2 separate regions of the Homo sapiens genome follow, and region 2 is linked to region 1. Evidence: promoter capture Hi-C in 16 types of primary human blood cells and fetal thymus (Javierre and others, 2016). All regions are on one chromosome and are shown on one strand. The core of a region is centred on a gene start or on the middle of the fragment in contact, and the rest is flanking DNA. Distances in the headings are between cores, read along the strand shown.

The links. The method cuts DNA at HindIII sites, captures the fragments that hold promoters and counts their contacts. A CHiCAGO score of 5 or more calls a contact.
Region 2: a contact is called between a fragment that was not itself captured here and the fragment with the promoter of TRAF3IP1 in region 1, in 1 of 17 cell types (M0 macrophages). The highest score is 5.1, in M0 macrophages.

The regions. Positions count from the first base shown.
Region 1 is chr2:238,316,637-238,324,325 of GRCh38, reverse strand. It overlaps TRAF3IP1 (TRAF3 interacting protein 1), which reads right to left and starts at 3,808. Exons shown (of 17, transcript NM_015650.4): 1 at 3,541-3,808. The coding sequence starts at 3,663. RefSeq lists silencers at 3,315-3,544, 3,675-4,154. The HindIII fragment of the contact is 10,073 bases long and covers 1-7,689 here.
Region 2 is chr2:238,785,319-238,793,007 of GRCh38, reverse strand. No RefSeq gene overlaps it. Among named protein-coding and RNA genes, the nearest start is that of TWIST2, 59 kb to the left of the region's middle. The HindIII fragment of the contact is 685 bases long and covers 4,323-5,007 here.

The DNA.
Region 1 (7,689 bases), core at 2,559-5,058:
GAGGCCGAGGTGGGTGGATCACTTGAGGTCAGCAGTTCAAGACCAGCCTGGCCAACAAGGTGAAACCCCGTCTCTACTAAAAATACAAAAATTAGCCAGGCATGGTGGTGGGCGTCTGTAATCCCAGCTACTCAGGAGGCTGAGGCAACAGAATTGTTTGAACCCGGGAGGTGGAGGTTGGAGTGAGTCAGAATCATGCCACAGGACTCCAGCCTGGGCAACGCAGTGAGACTCTGCCTCAAAAAAAAAGAAAGAAAAGAAAAGGAATTTCTCAACCTAGTTTGCTAAGACTAGAAGTTCTGCAAGGGTCTTTCTCCTCACCACGTGTCACTACTCACTTCTTAAGATGGTGGCAGGCTCCACACCTCACTGCTTTGGTTCTCTCCCTAATCATCCCTTCCCTCAGGTAACCTGTACCTCCTAATTAGCCCTAAAACCAGCTTTTAGGGCAATTATTTTTCCTGTTCCTCTCAACCACCACACCCAGCCAGGGTCCTGGGTTGTCTCAGACTGCAGTTTTTTGAAATGTGGTAGGTTACTGTAAAATCAATACAATTTGTAGCAACAAGCATTTTGAATAGCTGGGACCCTTACCAGCAGGCTGCATGGTATGTGGTAAGGACAGGTATGCTCATAGCCACATATCCTAGGTCAGCTAATAAAGCATATTTATTACGGGAAGACATGTTTTAAAAACAAGACAGTCCCACCCTAATGAGAGCCTCCTCTGGAATCAAGCCACAACTCCTTAATTTGCATCAAGTTAGGTATTAATGAATCTAGGAGTTTTCATTCCACACCACACTATGTAAGAGCTATGCTACTGTTTTTCTTGAGATGACAGGTAGAATATTAAGAGCATCCTGCATTTAACATTCCTGGAACATTTTCATTTTGTCCCTGTTGAGGTTTTCCCAGGATGCTGGCAGTTAAAATTGTGAGCAATAGGCTGGGTACAGTAGCTCACACCTGTAATCTCGGCACTTTGGGAGGCCGAGGCAGGCGGATCACCTGAGGTCAGGAGTTCGAGATCAGGCCGGACAACATGGCGAAACCCCATCTCTACTAAAAATAGAAAAATTAGCTGGACATGGTGGCATGTGCCTGCAGTCCCAGCTACTCAGAAGGCTGAAACAGGAGAATTGCTTGAACCTGGGAGGCGTAAGTTGCAGTGAGTGGAGACTGTGTCACTGCACTCCAGCCTGGGCGACAGAGCAAGAATCCCTCTAAAAAAAAAAAAAAAATTGTGAACAATAACTGTAAGTGACAAGAGACATTAACGTCACAGTATCCACACTTAGCTTAATGAAACGGGGTGGTTAGTGTAGCTATAGCTAAAATACTAATATAGCAATGTGTGTATAATATTCAGTACAGTAAAGCATTTTCATAAGAGGCTCTCCACCTATTATCTGAAAATCCTTTCCAATATGTCAGTCATTCTAACAACTTTATCAAGTAGGTCATAATTTATTTATCTTTACACAGGGAGAGAAATCAACTTTGGCATTAGATGAGGAAGTCTATGGGAGAAGAGCAGACCAGTCGTTCCTAATTGGGAACATGCAACTCGTTCCACACACCCTATCTACCTGGCCAAGAAGGCAATTCTTTTTTTTTTTTTTTTTTTTTTTTTTTGAGACAGGGTCTTACTCTGTCACCCAGGCTAGAGTGCAGTGTTACAATCACAGCTCACTGCATCCTCAACCTTCCCGGCTCAAGCAATCTTCCCTACTCAGCCTCCTGAGTAGCTGGGATTACAGGTGCACCACCACACTCAGCTAATTTTTGTATTTTCAGTAGAGATGGAGTTTTAACCATGTTGGCCAGGCTGGTCTTGAACATCTGGGCTCAAGTGATCTGCCCGCCTTGGCCTCCCAGAGTGCTGGGATTACAGGCGTGAGCCACAGCACCCAGCCCATGTTCCTCCTCCTCTCCCATTAGGATTCCTCTGACCAACTATGCGGTAGTGACTGGACAGCCACCGTGAGCTGAGCGCCATCACTGCCCCACAAGGATAAGGCACACTCCCTGCACCTCCCTCCTGGGGCTCTGCATTTCAGTGGGACAGACAGGCCTGGGAGAATAAAGGTTTTGGCAGCCACAGCTAGAGTGGGCTGGGCTCACACTGGCTCTTGTTCCCTCTGGGTCAGAGGACGGGTACCCGCCTACTTCACGGGACGGTGGTGATGCGGCACATTGTCCCCCTCCCACCGGGCTATCCACACAGCAGGTCCTCTCCCCACACACTGTCCAGGACAGGCTGTAAGTGCTGCACCAGCTGGGAGGACATGACCAGGGCTGGCGAGGCCCTGGGATGTGGGTGGATTCGAGAGCATTTTTAGGCACTGTTTTAACACAGAGGCACACGCTCCAGGAGACCACACGTTATAAGCTAAGGTAGGAGGGCAGAACCAGTAAAGCAAAGTCTGTGCAAGAATAAGGCACCCAACCTGTTGAAAAGAGTGAGAAACAGAGCTTGAGGACCATCACCAGGTGAGGTCATGAGGCCCTGGAAGTCTGCAAGTCCAACCTGAATCCTAAATCCCAAAACACACCTCTGAGTTCCCACGTGCCCTTGGGTCCACCATGGAAATGGGTGCTGCGCCCGCTGCAGTGACGCTCCTGAGAGTTACCAGGGAGTTACCACGAGCCTTGACAGGTCCCACTCAACAGGGGATGTTTGTTGTGCAATTTCTATGTACCTTACCCAGTGCAGATCACCAGAGCCATGCTAATAAGCAAGCCAGGGTCTCCGTCACGGAGGAGCACACCATCCGCAAGTGGAAAAAGCTACAGAGACCACCAATCTCAACGTAGGGCAGGCTGTGCAGCTCTGTTACAGTCTTTCCTGCCAAGTCCCCCTACAGCCGCCTCCACTAAATCCACCCGCAGGCATTTATTAAGCACCCAAAATGTGGTATGGAGGGAAACTTTGGGGCAGAAGGGTTGTATAAAAAATATTATTTCCATTCTCCCAGGATTTAGGGAGTGCCTTCCACGTGCTACATACTTCAGGGCAAGCGAGAGGGGTTCTGCAAGGTTAGACGAGGCAGGAGTCACAGAAGCAGCTCTGCCAGCAATAATGGAAGATGCACTCTAAGGAAATACAAGGGCAGGCAGGGAAGAAGTAAGAATGCTCCTGAGGGCCCGGAGCCTCCTTGTAAGCGGCGGCCCGGAGCCGGGGGAGGGGCAGGACCTCCTCACGGAGGGCGCCGCGGAATTGGGCCTACAGGCCGGGCTCCCAGGCAGGGGCCGCACAGAACTCTCGCCCCGACCCCGGAACTGACCCCGGCCCCCGACCCGCACCCTGTGCCCGGCCCACACCCGGCCCTGAACAGGTCCCCGACCTGCACCCCGAGCCCGGCCCACACCCGGTTCACACCCGGCCCGGGCCCCGACTCCGGCCCAGCCCCGGCCCCCGACCCGCACCTGAGCCCGAGCCCGGCTCGCACCCGGCGCCACCCGGCCCGGGCCCTGACCTCGGCGCCCACCGGAATCCCGACCCGCACCTGGCCGGGCCCGGTCCCCGGCGCCCACCTCCGTGATGATGTCGTGCAGGTAGCGGAACGGGGGCTTGCTCAGCAGCTTCTCGGTCAGCGGCGGCCTCCGAATCACTTTCCCCAGCGCCTCCTGCGTCCGCCTCACCACCGCCGCGTTCATGACGGCGTCCGCCGCCCGCTGGCCGCCCGCGCCCCTCAGCCGGCCTGGCCGAGCCTAAGCCCGGGTCCCTGGCCGCCGCCGGCCCCGCCGCCGCCGCCGCCCGGTCCTGCCAGGACGCGCCGCTCCGGTTTCCATCCCACAGTGCACCGGAGCCCACCACAGCGCCTGCGCGGCCGCCGCAGGGCGTTCGGTCACTAGGGCTGCGCGGCCTTAGCAACGGACGCGCCGCGGCGCCCCGCCCCCTGCCCGCCTTCCAGCGCCCGCGCAGGCAGGAGTGGGGGTTCCGCGGGAGGGATTTGCGGGAGTGCGGCTGTGCCAGAGCAGGCGGGGCGCGGCGGGGCGGGGAAAGGGGATCTGGGATCGGGCGCCTGGCCCCTCCTCTGCCGAGCGACGGCCTCGGGAAGCCGGTGTTCGCTCGCGTTAGAGGCGACTGCCTGAGGACTGATTAAGAACAAGGTAACCTCCAAGATCTGTGCCGCCTGTTTCCCAAATCTCAAGGGCTTTCGAAGGCACTGGTTCATCGGAGGGGACGGCACTAAGTTATCCCAAAACACACGGAATAGAAAATACGCTGTCCTGGCTGGTAATTAATAAGGCTTCTTGGGCAAGTCACCTGTTTTCTCTGAGACTTCACTTCTGCTCCCACAAAGCAGGACTAGTGTGCCCGCTGCCTAACCCACCTCCCAAGAAGGTAAATGGTGACTAAATGCTGTGTCGGTGCTCTGAAACCGGGACAAAGCCATGCCTAGTTGTCCTACTAGGTGTCCGTGATTCTTTACCACCTGTCCTCTGTCCATCATGCACAGGCCTACCGCAGAAATCCTTCCGGCGATTTGAGAGCTCTGGGGTCTGTAGTTCTTCTAATGAGAACACCATTATAACCTTTTTTTTTTTTTGAGACGAAGTCTGACTCTGTCGCCCAGGCTGGAGTGCAGTGGCACGATCTTGGCTCACTGCAACCTCCACCTCCCAGGTTCAAGTGATTCTCCTGCCTCAGCCTCATGAGTAGCTGCGACTTCAGGCTCCCGACACCACACCAGCCTCGCTTTTGCATTATTAGTAGAGACGGGGTTTCACCATGTTGGCCAGGCAGGTCTGGAACTCCTGACTTCAGGCAATCCGTCCGCATCGGCCTCCCAAAGTGCTGGTATTACAGGTGTGCGCGACCGCCCCCATTATAACTTTTAAATTGACCTTCATTTTTACCATTTTCAGGCCTCCTCATTTTTTGTGGAGATCTAAATCGCCATCTGGTGTCATACCCCTCCTGTCTGAAGAACTTCCTTTAATATTTCTTCTAGCACAGTTCAGTTGGTAATGGAAAAGTTATACAGACAACCAATTTCAATGCCAGTCAGGCTGTATGGTTTATCAACAAATACTAAATTGCATTTTTATAGTTTTCCTTCCATGTCCCCCTATAACCACCTCCAGTAAATTCAGCCACAAATATTTATTAAGCATAGAAGTATAGAATTCTAGAGTTGGGAGGTCAGGAGTTCGAGACCAGCCTGACCAACATGGTGAAACCCCGTCTCTACTTAAAATACAAAATATTAGCTGGGTGCAGAGGCGGGCGCCTGTAATCCCAGCTACCAGGAAGGCTGAGGCAAGAGAATCACCTGAACCCAGGAGACAGAGCTTGCAGTGAGCCGAGGTCATGCCACTGCAATCCAGCCTGGGTGACAGAGTGAGACTCCGTCTCAAAAAAAAAAAAAAAGAATTCTAGGGGTACAGTGGCTCACGCCTGTAATCCCAGCACTTTGGGAGCCTGAGGCAGGCAGATCACTTAAGGTCAGGAGTTTGAGACCAGCCTGGCCAAAATGGTGAAAGCCTGTCTCTACTAAAAATATAAAAATTAGCTGGGCGTAGTGGTGTGTGCCTGTAACCCCAGCTACTTGGAAGGCTGAGGCACAAGAATCGCTTGAACCCGGGGGTTGGAGCTTGCAGTGAGCCAAGATGGCACCACTGCACTCCTGCCTGGGCAACAGAGCAAGACTCTGTCTTTAAAAAACAAAAACAAACAAAAAGAAAAGTGTAGCATTCTAGACTGACTGTTTTTGTTTTTCAGTACTTTAAGGATGTTACTCCATTGACTTCTGGCTTGCGTAGTTTCTGAATAAAAGTCTTCCGTAATTCTTTGTTCTTCTGTCTATTGTTTCTGGCTGCCTTCAAGATTTTATTTTTATTATTGGTTTGCCAGAAGTTTGCACATGGTATATCTAGATGTGGGGGTCTCTTCTACTTAAAATTTATATTTTATTATTTACATACAATAAAATTCACACATTTTAAGTGTGCAGGTTGATACATTTTGGTAATTATATACAATTATGTTACCACCACCACAATCAGAATACAGAACAGTCCCTGCACCCTAAAACATTTCTTGCTGCTTATTTGCAGCCCATCTCCTTCCCCACCCCAGCCCCAGGCAGCCACTAATCTGGTTTCTGTCATTATAATTTTGCCTCTTCTAGAGTTTCATATAAATGGAATCATGCAGTACACAGTCTTTTGTATTTCATTATTTCTCTTATATTTTTGAGATTCATTCATATTGTTACACGTATATTAATATGCCATTCCTTTTTGTGGCTGAATGGTATTTCATAGTGTAATTTGTTTATTCATCAGTTGATGGACATTTGGGTTGCTTTCAGTTTTTTATTTTTTATGAATAATGCTGCTGGCCAGGCATGGTGGCTCACACCTGTAATCCCAGCACTTCAGGAGGCTAAGGTGGGCAGATCACTTGAGGTCAGGGATTCAGCACCAGCCTGGCCAATGTGGTGAAACCCTGTCTCTACTAAAAATACAAAAATTAGCCAGTCGTGGTGGGGTGCATCTGTAATTCCAGCTACTCAGGAGGCTGAGGCACAAGAAATGTTTGAATCTGGGAGGCGGAGGTTGCAGTGAGCTGAGATCGTGTTACTGAACTCCAGCTTGGGTGACAGAGTGAGACTCTGTCTCAAAAAAAAAAAAAATGCTGCTATAACCATTCACTTACAAGTCTTTGTGAAAGTTTTCATTTCTCTTGTATTGGAATTGTTGGGTTGTATGGTAAGAATATGTTTAACTCTACAAATACTACCATGCTGTTTTTAAAGTGGCTGCATCATCATTCATTCCCACCAGCAATATATTGAATCCCAAGTTACTCCATATCCCTGCCAACATCTGGTATTGTCAGTCTTTTTGTTTTTCTTCTTCTTTTTGTTTTTGGGTTTTTTTTTTTTTTTTTTTTTTTTGAGATGGAGTGTTGCTCTGTTGCCCAGGCTGGAGTGCAATGGCATGCTCTCAGCTTACTGCAACCTCTGTTTCCTGGGTTCAAGTGATTCTCCTGCTTCAGTCTCCTGAGTAACTGGGATTACAGGCACCCGCCACCATACCCAGCTAATTTTTGTATTGTCAGTAGAGATGGGGTTTCACCATGTTGGCCAGACTGGTCTCGAACTCCTGACCTCAGGTGATCTGCCCGCCTTGGCCTCCCAAAGTGCTGGGATTACAGGTGTGAGCCACTGTGCCCAGCCTGTCAGTCTTCCCACCTGCACCCCCCCGCCACCCCGCAGACAGAGTCTTGCTCTGTCGCCCAGGCTGGAGTGCAGTGGCACTGTCTTGGCTCACTGCAAGCTCCGCCTCCCGTGTTCATGCCATTCTCCTGCCTCAGCCTCCTGAGTAGCTGGGACTACAGGTGCCTGCCACCACGCCCAGATATTTTTTGTATTTTTTAGTAGAGACAGGGTTTCACCATGTCGGCCAGGATGGTCTCAATCTCCTGACCTCAAGATCTACCCACCTCAGCCTCCCAAAGTGCTGGGATTACAGGCGTGAGCCACCGCACCCGGCCCCTGTCAGTCTTTTTTAACGTTCATCTTTCTACGGGTGTGGAATGGTGTCTTGTTATGGTTCCTATTTACATTTCTGTAGTGATTAGTGATTTTGAGCATATTTCCCTGCCCTTGCTAAATATTCATATATCTCTAGTGAAGATACCACATCAAGTATCATTCAAGCATTTACTGA
Region 2 (7,689 bases), core at 3,416-5,915, 470 kb before region 1:
CTGGGGCAAGAGAGTCACTTGAACCTGGGAGGTGGAAGTTGTAATGAGCCGAGATCGTGCCACTGCACTCCAGCCCTGGGCAAAACAGCGGGACTCCATCTCAAAAAAAGAAAAAAAAAAAAAAAGAACAAATACTATATGATTCCACTCATATGAGGTCAAGTTCTTAGAGAGGGAGGGTAGAATGGTGGGTGCCACAATGGTGGGTGCTGGGGGCTGGGAGAGGGGAACTGGGCGTTTGTGTTTAGTGATACAGAGTTCAGTTTTACAAAATGAAAGGAGCTATGGAGAGGGATCCTGGTGATGGTTACATGACAATGTGAATGTTCTTAATGCCATTAAATGGTATACTTAGAACGGTTAAAAATGGTATATTTTATGTTATGTCTATTTTATCACAATTTCAAAAATGTATGTCTAATCCCAGCACTTTGGGAGGACAAGGTGGGTGGATCGCTTGAGGTCAAGAGTTCGAGACCAGTCTGGCCAACATGGTGAAACCCTGTTTCTACTAAAAATACAAAAATTAAGCAGGCATGGTGATGCACACCTATAGTCCCAGCTACTTGGGAGGCTGAGACAGGAGAATCGCTTGAACCTGGGAAGCAGAGGTTGCAGTGAGCTGAGGTGGCACCACTGCACTCCAGCCTGGGTGACTAGCAAAACTCCATCTCAAAAAAATAATAATAATAATTATGTCATGGGTCTCCTCGCAAGTGAGAGAGGGAGAGGGAGGAAGGGGAGAGGTTATCAAGGGCTCTCTCTGGCTTTTACTGGCCATTATCTCCTTTACGCATTTCTACATTTTTTAGTGCCTTTATGACAATCATATGCTGCTTTTACAATTAGAAAAGGAAAGAGGGTCACTTATTGAAGCCCCCTTACCTCCCACCTCTTCCCCTCCCTTCCACTGACCCTCCCTTTGTCTTCTTGAGTGCTTGTCCCTAAAGGTGGAAAAGATATTATTAGACCCATTTTGCAAAGGAGAAAATAGAGACTCTGAGAGGAAAAATGAATTACCCAAGGCCACAGCCCAGTACCTGGTGATGCCTGGAACCAGGCCAGATCCTGCTGGGGTCACCAGGACCCCACCCCGCCCCCTACCCCGCCCCCCCCCACCACCACCACCCTGCCTTCCTGCAAAGGCGAAATCACTGAACACCAAAATCCCCTGCTCATCATCCCTGCTGGGGCTATTTCTGTTTTAAATAGCTGGAGGCTTTGCCTAGCAGAGATTCTGTGAAATACAGCAGGGTGGTCATGTCTGGGGTGTGTCCCTGTACAAACCAGGCTCACCACTGCACCAGAAATCAGGTCTGCTCTGACCTGACCACACACACCCAGAACAGCAACGTTCTGACTTACATGATCCAGATAATCCCCGGCCTGCCCTCCCGCCCCGTGAGCATGGACACTACCGGAAGGGCGGCTGCGGGAGCTGGCCCGTCTGTGCTCATGGCTCTCTGCTATGTTGCCATTTCCAGGGAAGCATTTGCCGCATTTTGTGTTGATTGATGTCCCCCACCCTGCCCCCCTACCCCGGCATCACCTCAGACCCCTGCAGAGGCCAGGGCTGAAGCCCAGCTCCTTCAGGGACACAGGCGCTCCGATGCCTTTGACCAGCTGGGCACGGGCTGGCCCCACGTTTTCAGCACTCTCCTTTTTTTCTTAAATAAAAGAGCTGGCAGGGGAGGCAGTTTCTAGAGTGTTTGAATTGGCCCCATTTATAAATCTGTCCTTTTTTTTTCTCTTACGGATACTATAACCACAAACTGCATTCGCTTACAGTCACTTTTACACTTGGTTCTCTTCGGCTTATTATCTGCAATTCTAAGAGATGTCTGTGATAACTAAGCTGTTTCTACACACAGCCTTGCTGCGGTGTTGGAAGCCATGAGCCAACTGCGGGTGGGCTGGAGTCTGTGTGGTTCTGAGCGGCTGAGATGAGCCAGCCCCACTGCGCCTGGGTCCTACATCTACAAAACCGTGTTTTCCAGCTGGGAGAGACCAGGGCCCAGGGCTTCAAGAGCAGACAGGCAGGGAAATCCCTGGCCCAGGACCCTTGCTAGGCAGCCACCGGCCTCCTCAAACGCTCCCCCTTGTTGGCCCTTTGGCGGCAACAGTGTCTCCCTCTTCAATGGAGAAGACCGGGTCCTGCAGGGGACTTTTTAGCCGATTTTTTTCCCAGCTCGTATTGTGCAGGCTCTGAGCTGTGTTTATTTGGATCTTTCTGAAGAACCCTCTAACCGTATTCCATGTCTGTAGATGTGTTTGGCAGAGTTGTGCGGTTTTCATCTTCTTCTTTTTTAAGTTGCAAATGCTTAAAATTCTGCTGGCTTTTTAGCTCCCAAGGGAACCCCCCCATCTCCAGCCCCCATGTGCCGTTGCCATGGTGATCTCCCTTTCCCTTTAAAGTCTGGAATGCCGCATTCCATAAGATTTGCACAGAAAGTCGCTTGATCATAGGCAAAGGCCTGTCTGTCCGTCTCCAACATTCTGTATCAATAAACACGCTCTGAGACCCTCTCTCTGCCTTGCTGTTAGAAATCAGGCTTTGACCCTCATCTGAGGGACTCTGGAAGGGTCCAGGGCAAACGGGGTTCGGCCTGGTATTCGCAGATTGTCTCCCGTTCCCTTTCCTCGGTACATTAGCATTTTCATCTATCGTCACAAGAATATCAGTGTGAGTTAGAGCAGCGGTGCAATTATATATGCAGGGGAATGCAGCCCCAGGCTCCAAATATTGAATTTTACACAGATACTAAGGGCATGTAAAATGTTAAAGTACATTTAAGTCCTCAAATAAATAACTTTAATTACATAAAGAACTAGATTTCAAGGAAATTACGGTTATTTGCTATAGGAAATTAACCTCCAAGTCATGTTTACGACTTAATGGATAGTCATTTTGGGGAGAATTCTCTCTTCTTTGAGTCTACATGTTCAACCCTTTTCTGAAACAGGAATAGGACTAATTGCTCTTGAGTGAAAGATTGTTGTGTATTTTGTCTCAGATCAGATGGATGAAAGTAAACAAAAGATACAATGTTTCCTTATACAGAGAAGTTGCCTCCTCAAAAAAAAAAAAAAAATCCCACAATCAGAATAAAGCATCAGGAATAAGACCACCATTTTGTTATAACACAACATTCCTCTGTATTAAATAATGACGGGTTTTATGTTTGTTACTGAGCAGAGTTTTTTTTTTAATTATTTCAAGAGCATGTCCTTTAGTGTTTATAACTGGGCTGACTGTGATATTAAACAGCCAGGAGGTGTTAGCAGCTGATTAAAGGAGGGAAAGGAGACCCTGCTAATTATACGGCAACCTTAGAATCGGTTTCTCCCGCTGAACTAGAGGACAAGCCACACACCTGCAGAACTTTACCAGCAGGAGCAGTGCTGGGACCCAACTCAGGCAACCAGCTCTGCTAATGAACCCAGAAAAAGCACACAAACTTGTTTTCCCTCCAAGACAGAGACAACACAGTGGGGTTTTCAGAAGTGTGTGGTGTGGAAGCAGCCAGGTGTAGCCACTGCACAAATGCAGTGGGAACACTCTCGTATGATAAAATCAAAGACGATGTCGCCTGCTTCCACATGACAGATCCAGGAAACTGCAGGATAGAATCACGCTCGTGTGCCTGGGCAGGGAGAGCTGGTTCACCCATGTCTGAACACTGGGACACCAGTTCTCCTCCAAACATCTTGGACTACTTAAATGCAAAGGTGAGTCTGGGTGTGGCTGAATTTGTGCATTGAATTTCTTTAACAGTAAATGTCAAGTGGAATACGGCATCAAGCTAGTTTCAGGAAACTTTCCACTCCAGTTATTTTGTTTTCTAATTATATGATATACTTTCTATCACAAGGCCCACTAGGATTTTTAAGTCTGATTTTTTTTAAAAAGTATTTATTATATAACAAGTTGATGGGCCAAGCACCTTCATTGTAGCACTGTGGCCATGCTTTTTAGAAAAGTGTTCTCCATTGCCATGATTGTGTTTGCATATCTATGCATAAATATGGGCAAAATGTTGCGTAAAGTTAAGCATGTACTAGAATTAGAGAAAAAAATTCTCAATTCTAGAAATGTTTGGAGACAGAATACTCTTTCCATTGCTAATTTAATGCAGGTTTTAAAAATGTTCTATAACTTTACAAAATTACAGATGGAAAAGATTTTTGTCCTTCTTCTTTATCTAGACAAATTCAGGAAAGCCCGGAGGCCTGGTATAGATGTTTCATCAAAAATTTCACCGTGCTGTGTCAGAAATCAGAAGACAGAATTTAGAACCATCCCGTTTCCTCTGCAGAAAGCTTTTCAAGAAGATACACTCGGAATTAGCAATATTTCCACCAAAATATGAAGTGTAAAGAGAGCCTTCAATAAAGCCACAGGTTTGATGTTTTTTCTTTTTAAAAGGAAAAAAACTAATTTAAAATTATTTTTAAAAGAAAAAAACCACAAGATAATGAAAATGAAGTTATACCTAGGCTGATATTGCATTTGCCAATATTTTACTCCCACTGTTTAATCATTTTAATAGTTGCATTTAAGAGTTTAGGATATTCAAACCTCACCCAGCTATAGCAAAAAAAAGAAAGCTGTGTGATTTAAGTAGTGTCCTTTTCTGCATAATTTTAAATTAGTTTTTATTTTTAATTAATTGTGAAATTGCTGGTGAGGCTTTGGTGCCTTCTTAACTGCTATAATGAACAAATTCATTTAAACTTCAATTTAGCAATCTACAGTTTTCTAAGAGCTCAAATAAATGAAAATTCAAACATAATTTTAAAAAAGGATTCCATTAACTACAAAAGGGTCTATATCAAGTTTATTAGAAAGTATGGAATTGCTACAAGAACACATTTTCAATTTTATAAATTAGTTTTCAGAGGCTTAAGCAGAACAACACATAGAGAGAAAAAGTAGAAGTTTGTTGGTTAAAAAAAAAAATCCCATTCTAATGAACCGAGGCTATAGCTTAAAACACAGCCAAAGCTTTAAAGCTTGGTCGTCCAGATTTCTGTGTGACCATTTTAACACAGGGCATCTCTAGTTCCCAATGGAAATATTTCTTTTCCGGCACTTTCATTTTCTGAAACAATTTACTGGAGTTTCATAAAAAGAGAATAACAGCTTTGTGTTTCATTGTTGAGGATTTTACTTCACTTTACATAACTTTTCCTCATTTCACTTAGTGGCTATTTGAGGAGCTTGACTGAACTCTAGGTAACCTCTTAGGTTATGCCTGCTGGATTTCAGGGACCTGGAGCTGCTGGTGCTGGCAGGCCAGTGGTGACTCGGGGTGCCTGTCTGACCGCCTAGGAGCTGGGACTGGGCTCTCTGCGTACATACAACTGCATGGGGGACAGGGGACTTCTGCCTTTGTTTGGACAAAGGATGCGGTAAGACCAGAGAAAAGGAAGGCTTTACCTGTGGCTCTTTGCACTTTTAATACTCTAGAAGGAAATAGTGAGTCTACTTTAATGGAAAATAGCGAATCTTTTGCAGGACTCAAAAAAGGAAGTTTGCTAAGAGCAAGGAAATGTGAAGGAGTTGGAGCGACAGCGTTAGAACATTTAATTTGGCTTTATGTTGTAATTATGACTTGCGGGAAGTGGCCTGGCGTGTATGAATGCTGTTGCTGGAAAGAGCACTTGAGCATCAGCGAAAATTCTGAAAGCTGTGTTTACAACGGACGCACACACAACAGAAAGCAAACCGTGGAGACGAGGGTTTTGGAAACGTGCCCTCCTCGGCATTCATTATAACCAATAATTAATTAAGAGATTTTTTAAAGTCCCTTCCTTGGCATCACGTTCCTCAGTGAGAATGCGGATGAGAAGTCAGAGGTGTTTGGGACATAAGTGCAAGTAGTTACGGGCAGGGTTTTTCAGTTTTGGTTTTTAAAGAGAATGAAAACGAAGTGGGGAGACAGCGGCACAGTGTGCGGTGCCCTGCCGGCCAGGCCACGCTTTCTCCACCCTGACTCCCACGTTCGCTCAACAGTATGAGAACTTCACGGTAACATGGAAGGGATCCCCGCACTCCCTCTAATGCTATTTCTGTTCGATGCGTTCTTTGGCTGCGAATTTGAGAACTGCCTTTTTGGCAAAGCCAGTGAGTTTTGTGTTTTCAGATCAACCGAAAGGACGTTGACTTTCAGGTTCCCGATCCTTCTGAATCCAATCCCAAATTTAAAACAGCATCCGATCCTGGCTACAGCCTGAGCTGGGCCCCAGGTCAGCCAAGCTTCCCAGGTGGAAAGGAAGGAATCCAGGTTGCCCAAGATGCTGTGGCCTGGGTGACAGTTACCAGCCTCCAGAGAGGCCTCAGCCTTCGGGGTGCCTTGCTCAGAGCAGGCACATACCTCTCACCGCAAGAGCCATCTGACCATGGTTACTCGACCCCTCCCCCAGAGTGAGTTCACTGTCCACCAGAGGGGACAGCTCCCACTGCCAGGCTTCGGTGAAACCACGTGGACTGTGGAAGCAACCCAGTGTCCACTGATGAATGAATGGAGAAACGAAAGGTGATTTATCCGTAGGGTGGGACAGCACCCGGCCTTGGAAAGGAAGGGAACATGGACGGCACCTAAGGATGTTCTGCTGAGTGAAACAACCAGCCACAAAAAGACGAACCTTGCACGATTCCACTCACATGAGGAAGCTAAGGGGTCAAAATCATAGAGACGGAAAGTAGGATTGCGGGTGCCAGGGCTGGGGGAGGAAACAGGGAGTTCGTGTTTCATGGGGGACAGAGTCTCATTTGGGAAGATGGAAAGTTCTGGAGCTGAATAGTGGTGACGGTTGCACAGCAGCGCAGATGTGCTTAATGCCACTGAAGTGTGCACTTAAAATGATAAAAATGGCAAATTTTATGTTATGTATGTTTCACCACAATAAAAAAGGGAATAGCATTTTTCTTGTCAAATGGGGCTGGTGGTAGCTGCTCTGTAGCCTCATAAAGAAGTTCCTAAGTTTTTTTTTTATTTCCTTTTTTTAAATTTGGGTTTAAAACTGCTGTTTCCTTTTTCACTGTGGTAAAATATACATAACATAAAATTTACCATTTGAACCATAAGTTAGCCCAGGCCCTGCTTCTGGCCCCTGCTCTTCCTGAGTCCTGGTTGGTGCCCCCTTCATCCGTCCATACTTGCCACAAGCCCCTCTTGTCCGGTCCTGGGCACAGAGGTCCTGGTGGAAGAGACAGTCCCTGCCCAAGAACAGGGAAGGACATAGATGGGAGAAGGGACCCACTGCCCAGGGGACCAGCACCAGAGCTCAGCTCTCGGGCTCCCTGCGTGGCCCTGGCCTCTCGACCTCGCTGGACTCAGTCTCCTGACGTCTCCAGTGAAGAGCTGGAGTGGTGAGTCCCAGAGCCACTTCCGGCATGGGACAGAGGCCTGTACCTCAACACCAGCGATTTGCTGTGTGATCTTAGGCAAGTCAATATGTGTCTCTGGGACATACAGTGAGTTGTCTAAGATCACACAAACCCCCCACCACTTTAAAAAAAAAAATGGAGGGGATTTGATCAAGATCATGTCAGGATCCTTTCCAGTTTGGACATCCTGTGATTTTGGAATCTTCACCCACAGTTCTGAGCTTTTAAAAAATCCACATTTGTGTTATTTCCTTGTGATAGGGGAGAATAGCCCTGATGTCAGATCTCACTTGCTT